Linked DNA regions of Homo sapiens: region 2 is linked to region 1. Evidence: promoter capture Hi-C in 16 types of primary human blood cells and fetal thymus (Javierre and others, 2016). All regions are on one chromosome and are shown on one strand. The core of a region is centred on a gene start or on the middle of the fragment in contact, and the rest is flanking DNA. Distances in the headings are between cores, read along the strand shown. Region 1 holds the start of IQSEC1 (IQ motif and Sec7 domain ArfGEF 1). Region 2 has its middle 160 kb from the start of NUP210.

Region 1 (2,700 bases), core at 190-2,689:
CACAGGCCCCTGCCATGGTAAGGGGCCTCCATCGATTAGGGAGGCCTTGGGGTAGCCCCCAGAAGGCTCCCCACATACTGCTCCAGGCCTCCTTTTCCTAGCCTTGCGACTGAGCCCAGCTCAAGAGGACTCAGCCATGCTCTCTAACCTCCTAAGGTCTGAGGTCACTGCACAGCCCCAAATGAGTGGGTCCTGGGCAAATAGTTTAGGCAGGTGGAGACCTGACGCTGGGCCTCAACCCCCGCAGCCGAGGGTCCCAGAGGAGGGCAAAGGTTGCTCCTCCTAGAACAGCACAGTGCAGCGCCCAGAGAGCTGTGAGGGAAGCTGGCATTCGAACCCCACTGCCCCCTGGGAAGCCTGGCTAACCGAAGCGCAGGCTTTGGTTTCCATAAATACCCGGGCCCGTGATGTCACCGCCCCGTGCAGACTTTCACAGCCTCTGCTGCTGGCGTGAGGCCCAGCACACAGCCGCTCTGCTGCCAGCCCACAGAACACCTGGGCACACAGCTGGACACTGATGCCTCCGTGCTAGGGACGGTGGGCTGGACCTTCACCTGCCCTTGGAGGACGCAGCATCCTGGCCACTGCCTCAGCCTGCCTGCGACCTTCTATCAGGCATGGCTGAAGGGCTGGCCATGGGCGTGCTGGGCAGAGATTCTCTTCCTAAACAGGCTATGGGCTAAACCAAAGCCAAAACAGTAGGAGCCGGTCTGGGCACCCTGAATGTGGATCTGGGAGGGGGGATACCTGCTCTCACAGTTGGGAATTTCACAGCCTGCTGAAGACCTGCTGACTAATAGCCTTTTTCTCATCGTCATCACCAACAAACACCTCCGCTGCAGGGGCCGAGCGCCGGCATCCCTGCTGGGTGGCCAGCTCCCTCTGCAAGTCACCTGCACATCCACCTGCCCCTCCCCCAACGATGCCCCTCACTCCAGCTCCCAGCTCAGCCGGGCCCCTCTGGCCTCTGGCTTCAGGCAGAAACCTGCCACATATACTCACAAATAGCGTCTTCTGCAAGCCATCCTGTGTGAATCCGTTCTTCCCTGTTCTGGCTCCCTCTCCAGCGGGGAGGCTCAACGTGTTTCCAAGAGGAGCAGGCGGCTCAGGCAAGAAGTGGAGGGGAATAAAATTAAATCGCGGGGCGAGTCACATTCCCGGGGGTGGCGGGCTCCTCCAGGGAGGCTGGGGCGGGAGCGGGGGGCGGCGCCAGCAGCGGGCTGTGGAGGGCCCTGGCACGTAGCGCGCGCTCACACCGTGCCCAGGAGCGAGCGAGGACGTCGAGTAACCGTGGTCGCCAGGCTGGGCGGGGGCGTCCACCTCGCTGCTACCTGGGCCCACCTTGGGGTTTTTCCCTCCCGTCCATCCGGGGTGCGGGGCGCGGGGATGAGGAGGGGAGGGTCGAGAGAAGGCTGCCCCGGGTTTGCTCTCGCAGCATCCGGAGAAGGGGCGGGCGCGCCGGAGCCTCCCCCACCCCCCGCGCCCAAGGAGCAACGTAGTGCGGCCGCGCCGGACCAATCGCCGAGGCGCTGGTCGCCATGGCAACAGCAGCATCAGGCGCGGCCGCTCGGCTGCGCCCTCGCGGCAAAGTCACACACCCGGCGGGGCGCGGGGCGCCGGCCCCTTCCTGGCCCGCGCTGGAAACCTGGAAGTCTGTTGCTAAAATGCACGCGCCGCGCGGAGCCTACGATGACACTACTTTCCAAGGCGGCTTTTCTGCCTTCGGCACTGAGACACGCGAGCCGCGGAGCTCTCGGGGCTCTGGCCCTGGAGTGAGGCCGGCCGACTCCAAGGCTGTCTCTGCCACTGAAGGGCGATGAGACCTTGGCAAGCCGCGTCTCTCCTGGGAGTCTTGATTATGCTACTGTGAAAGGGATCATAACAGCTATACCACGGGGTTCCAGGAGGGCGCACCACGCCAGTAGCTGCACGGTGGATGGCAGAGCAGTCCTCGTTTGTGCCAGTCCTGTCCCAAAGGGGGCTGCACGTGGCTAGGGAGAATTTCTGGTCTAGCTATGGTGCCTCTTCCTCTCCCGAGGACCTTCCATGTGCCGGGCAAGTATCTGCCCTCATGATGTTTACAGTCTAAGGGGAAGCCAGGAAGTAAGTGTGCAGATATAGGATTGCACGTGGTGATAAGGATCAGGATGAAAAGAGAGCAGGAAGAGGGGAGGCAGGGACCCCAAGAGAGGCGGGAAGGAGGCTTCTGCCATCAGACGGGGTGGTCGGGAAGGCCCTCTGTGAGGCACGTGTGGCTGAGACTCGGATGACGCAAGAAGCAGGGGAGGAGCTGGCGTCAAGGCTCTGAGGCGGAAGGCAGCCTGGTGTATTTGACTGGCCCAGAGGAGGCCAGCGTGGTGCAGTGTGCGACAGGGAGGTGGAGGGGAGAAGCGCACATCCATCCTCGGCTCCCACACCCGCCTTTCCCACACAGATTTCTCTCTTCCTGTCTGATGTTCATCTGATCCTCTCTGCTTCCTCATCTGTAAACCAGGAATCCCAGACCTATCTCAGAGGCATGTAGATAATATTCTTCCGTGCACGGTAATCCTCAAGACAACCCCAATGAGGCCTAATACTATCATCCTACTTCACGGGGGAGCGCATTAAAGCCAGAGGTTCAGCAACTGGCCCAAGCCACATAGCTGGCGGGCAGTCTGGCTCCAGAGTCTTGGTTCTTGACTGCTTGAAAGCTGCCTC
Region 2 (2,700 bases), core at 79-2,578, 180 kb after region 1:
TAAACACTTTGTGTTATTTATCTTTTAACCATAAAAAAATCTATGACACATCAGATATAATGATATCATATATAATTATATGTAACTACATAATTTTAATTATTTCACAAAGTTGCCTGTTCAGCAAGTACCAACTGTGGTTATAACCCACGGCATCAGCCCCATCCTTATCCCCCACCTGACAGATAAGCAAACTGATTGGAGGGCAGCCCAGTGATTTGCCCAGGGGAACTGGGGTTCCTAAGAGCCACACCCTCCTGAGCTGACCTCACCAACCCCAAAGCAGCCTTCGGGATATCTCACTCAACCAAAGTCACTGAGCAAGCGCTGGGGATGCAGAAGGGACCAGGCAGACAGAAACCCTTCCCTCCGGGACCCCAGGCCATGGTGGGAAGATAGAAAGTGGACCACAGACAGAAACCAAAAGGACAAACTGGAGGACCCGTCAGGTGGCAAACACCATGGAGAGACGCAAAGCACGAGAAGGGGAGAGGGACCCTGGAGGAGAGCAGAGGGAGAGCCTCACCTACCCTGGGGAGAGGGTGCAGCACCAGCAGCGGGTGCAGCACCAGCAGCCAGCGGCCCCTATCTTCCCCTGCTCCCCAACCCAAAAACAGGCCTGGAGCTCTGCCCCATATCCCAGCCAACCCGCTGTGTGTTCACAGACAAGCTCCTTAACCTCTCTGTGCCCAGTTTTCCCTTTTGTAAAAAAGAAAAAATAAAACCTACCTCTGGTGCTGCCATGAGGATTAAGGGAGGCAGCGAGTATAAACTGCTCACCACCCTGCCAGGCACGCAGTGAGGGTCAGGGAGGGCAGCACTTCAGTCCAATCAAGACTACAAGGGAGTCAGGATGGCACAGAGACACACCTCACAGCTCAGGGGCCTCAGGACGAACGTTTCCAAGTGGTCATTCTCACGGGCATGATTTCACATGTAAGCTGCCCCTGAGAAGCTTCCCCAGTGCATGCATATGAGACAGACAGACAGACATTCTCCAGAAGACATAACATTCCGGCTAGGCAGGACGTTCCCAAGGACACCCAGTTTCTCAGCCCACACTGAACCCCACGCTGTGGGTCCCACATTTGGTGACCTCGCTAGGCTCCCTCACATGGCCCTCCTAGCTGAGTTGAACACATCAGCATCACCCCCAACCAGACTAACCCTGGCTGGTGCTCATTGCACTGCCCCAGCCCTTCCCGCCCCCGCCTGGTGCAGTCCACGAAGCCTCAGGGAGACTCGGGACATCTTCCTCGTTTGAGCTCACTTGAGACCACTCAGTTTGGGTAGGGCTCCGCACCCTGCAGCTGGTCTGAGAAATGGGGTGGGGCACTACAGCCTGTGAAATCCTCTGAACCCGGAGCCCCTTAAAGGGGTCCAAAATCTAGAAGCCCAGGAATTAAAAACGGCACAGCCACTTTGGAAGACAGTTTGGCAGCTTCTTACAAAACTACATACGCCCCTGCCACACGGCCCAGCAATCACACTCCTTGCTGTTTACTTAAGGGAGCTGAAAATGTATGTCCACACAAAAACCTACACATGGGTGTTTATAGCAGCTTCATTCATGACTGTCAAAACTTAGACACAACCAAGATGTCCCTCAGCAGGTGAATGGATAAACTGTGCTACATCCAGACAATGGAATATTATTCAGTGCTAAAAAGAAATGTGCTATCAACCATAAAAAGCCATGGAGGAAGCTTCAATGCATATGACTAAGTGAAAGAAGGTGACCTGGAGGGAGAGAGGGATGAACAGGCAGAGCACAGAGGATTTTGCGGGGGGCGGGGGCAGAAACACTGCTCTGTGTGATGCCACAATGGCAGAACAAGCCCGTGGTGAACCATGAACTATGGGTAATAATGATGTGTCAAAGTGGGTTCATCCATTGCGGCAGATGTGCCACACTAATGCAAGATAATAATGGAGGGAACAGGGACGGCAGGAGCATGGGAACTCACTGTACTTACTGCTCAATTTTTCTGTAAACCTAAAGTGCTCTAAAAGTAAAGACTATTAACAAACAGCAACAACAACAACAAAAAACCTTTTAAAAAATCTAGAACTCAGGGCCAGGTGTGATGGCTCACACTTGTAATCCTCCCACTTTGGAAGGCCGAGATGGGAGGATCACTGGAGCCTAGGAGTTCCAGACCAGCCTGGGCAACATAGTGAGATCCCATCTCTAGAAAATTATTTTAAAAAAATTAGCCGGACATGGTGGTATGTGCCTGTAGTCCCAGCCACTCAGGAGGCTGAGGTGGGAGGATCACTTGAGCGCAGGAAATCGAGGCTGCAGTGAGCTATGATTGTGCCACTGCAATCCAGCCTGGGCAACAGCATGAGATCCTGAAAATAAAGATTAAATAAATAAATAAGTAAAAATAAAAATAAATCTAGAACCCAGAGAAGATAATGGAATGCAGCCAGTGAGGAGCACAACCAGCTGGGAAAAAGCAGCCTCTCACGCTGCGAATCGCACCCTCGCCCCCCTCCCCACCCCACAGGGGCTGGCACCAGTAACCTCCAGGAACCTAGGGAACCCCAGGATTCCACAGCATCACCCACTCCATCTGGGATTCTGGCAGGTGTTGCCTCACAACGGCCCCCAAGTCTGGGCTCTGCCACCTCCATCCCCTTCCCTGGCCCAAGACCTATCATCTTTCCCCTGGGCCTCAGCACAGCCCCTACCCT

Evidence for each region. The method cuts DNA at HindIII sites, captures the fragments that hold promoters and counts their contacts. A CHiCAGO score of 5 or more calls a contact.
Region 2: a fragment that was not itself captured here is called in contact with the fragment with the promoter of IQSEC1 in region 1 in 2 of 17 cell types (naive B cells and total B cells); the score reaches 5.7 in naive B cells.

The regions. Positions count from the first base shown.
Region 1 is chr3:13,071,990-13,074,689 of GRCh38, forward strand. IQSEC1 (IQ motif and Sec7 domain ArfGEF 1) reads right to left here and starts at 1,440. Exons shown (of 14, transcript NM_001134382.3): 1 at 1,003-1,440. The coding sequence starts at 1,025. RefSeq lists silencers at 1,356-1,515, 1,636-1,815. The HindIII fragment of the contact is 20,266 bases long and covers 1-2,700 here.
Region 2 is chr3:13,256,324-13,259,023 of GRCh38, forward strand. It overlaps a transcript of IQSEC1 not described here. Among named protein-coding and RNA genes, the nearest start is that of NUP210, 160 kb to the right of the region's middle. RefSeq lists enhancers at 395-895, 896-1,396. The HindIII fragment of the contact is 751 bases long and covers 954-1,704 here.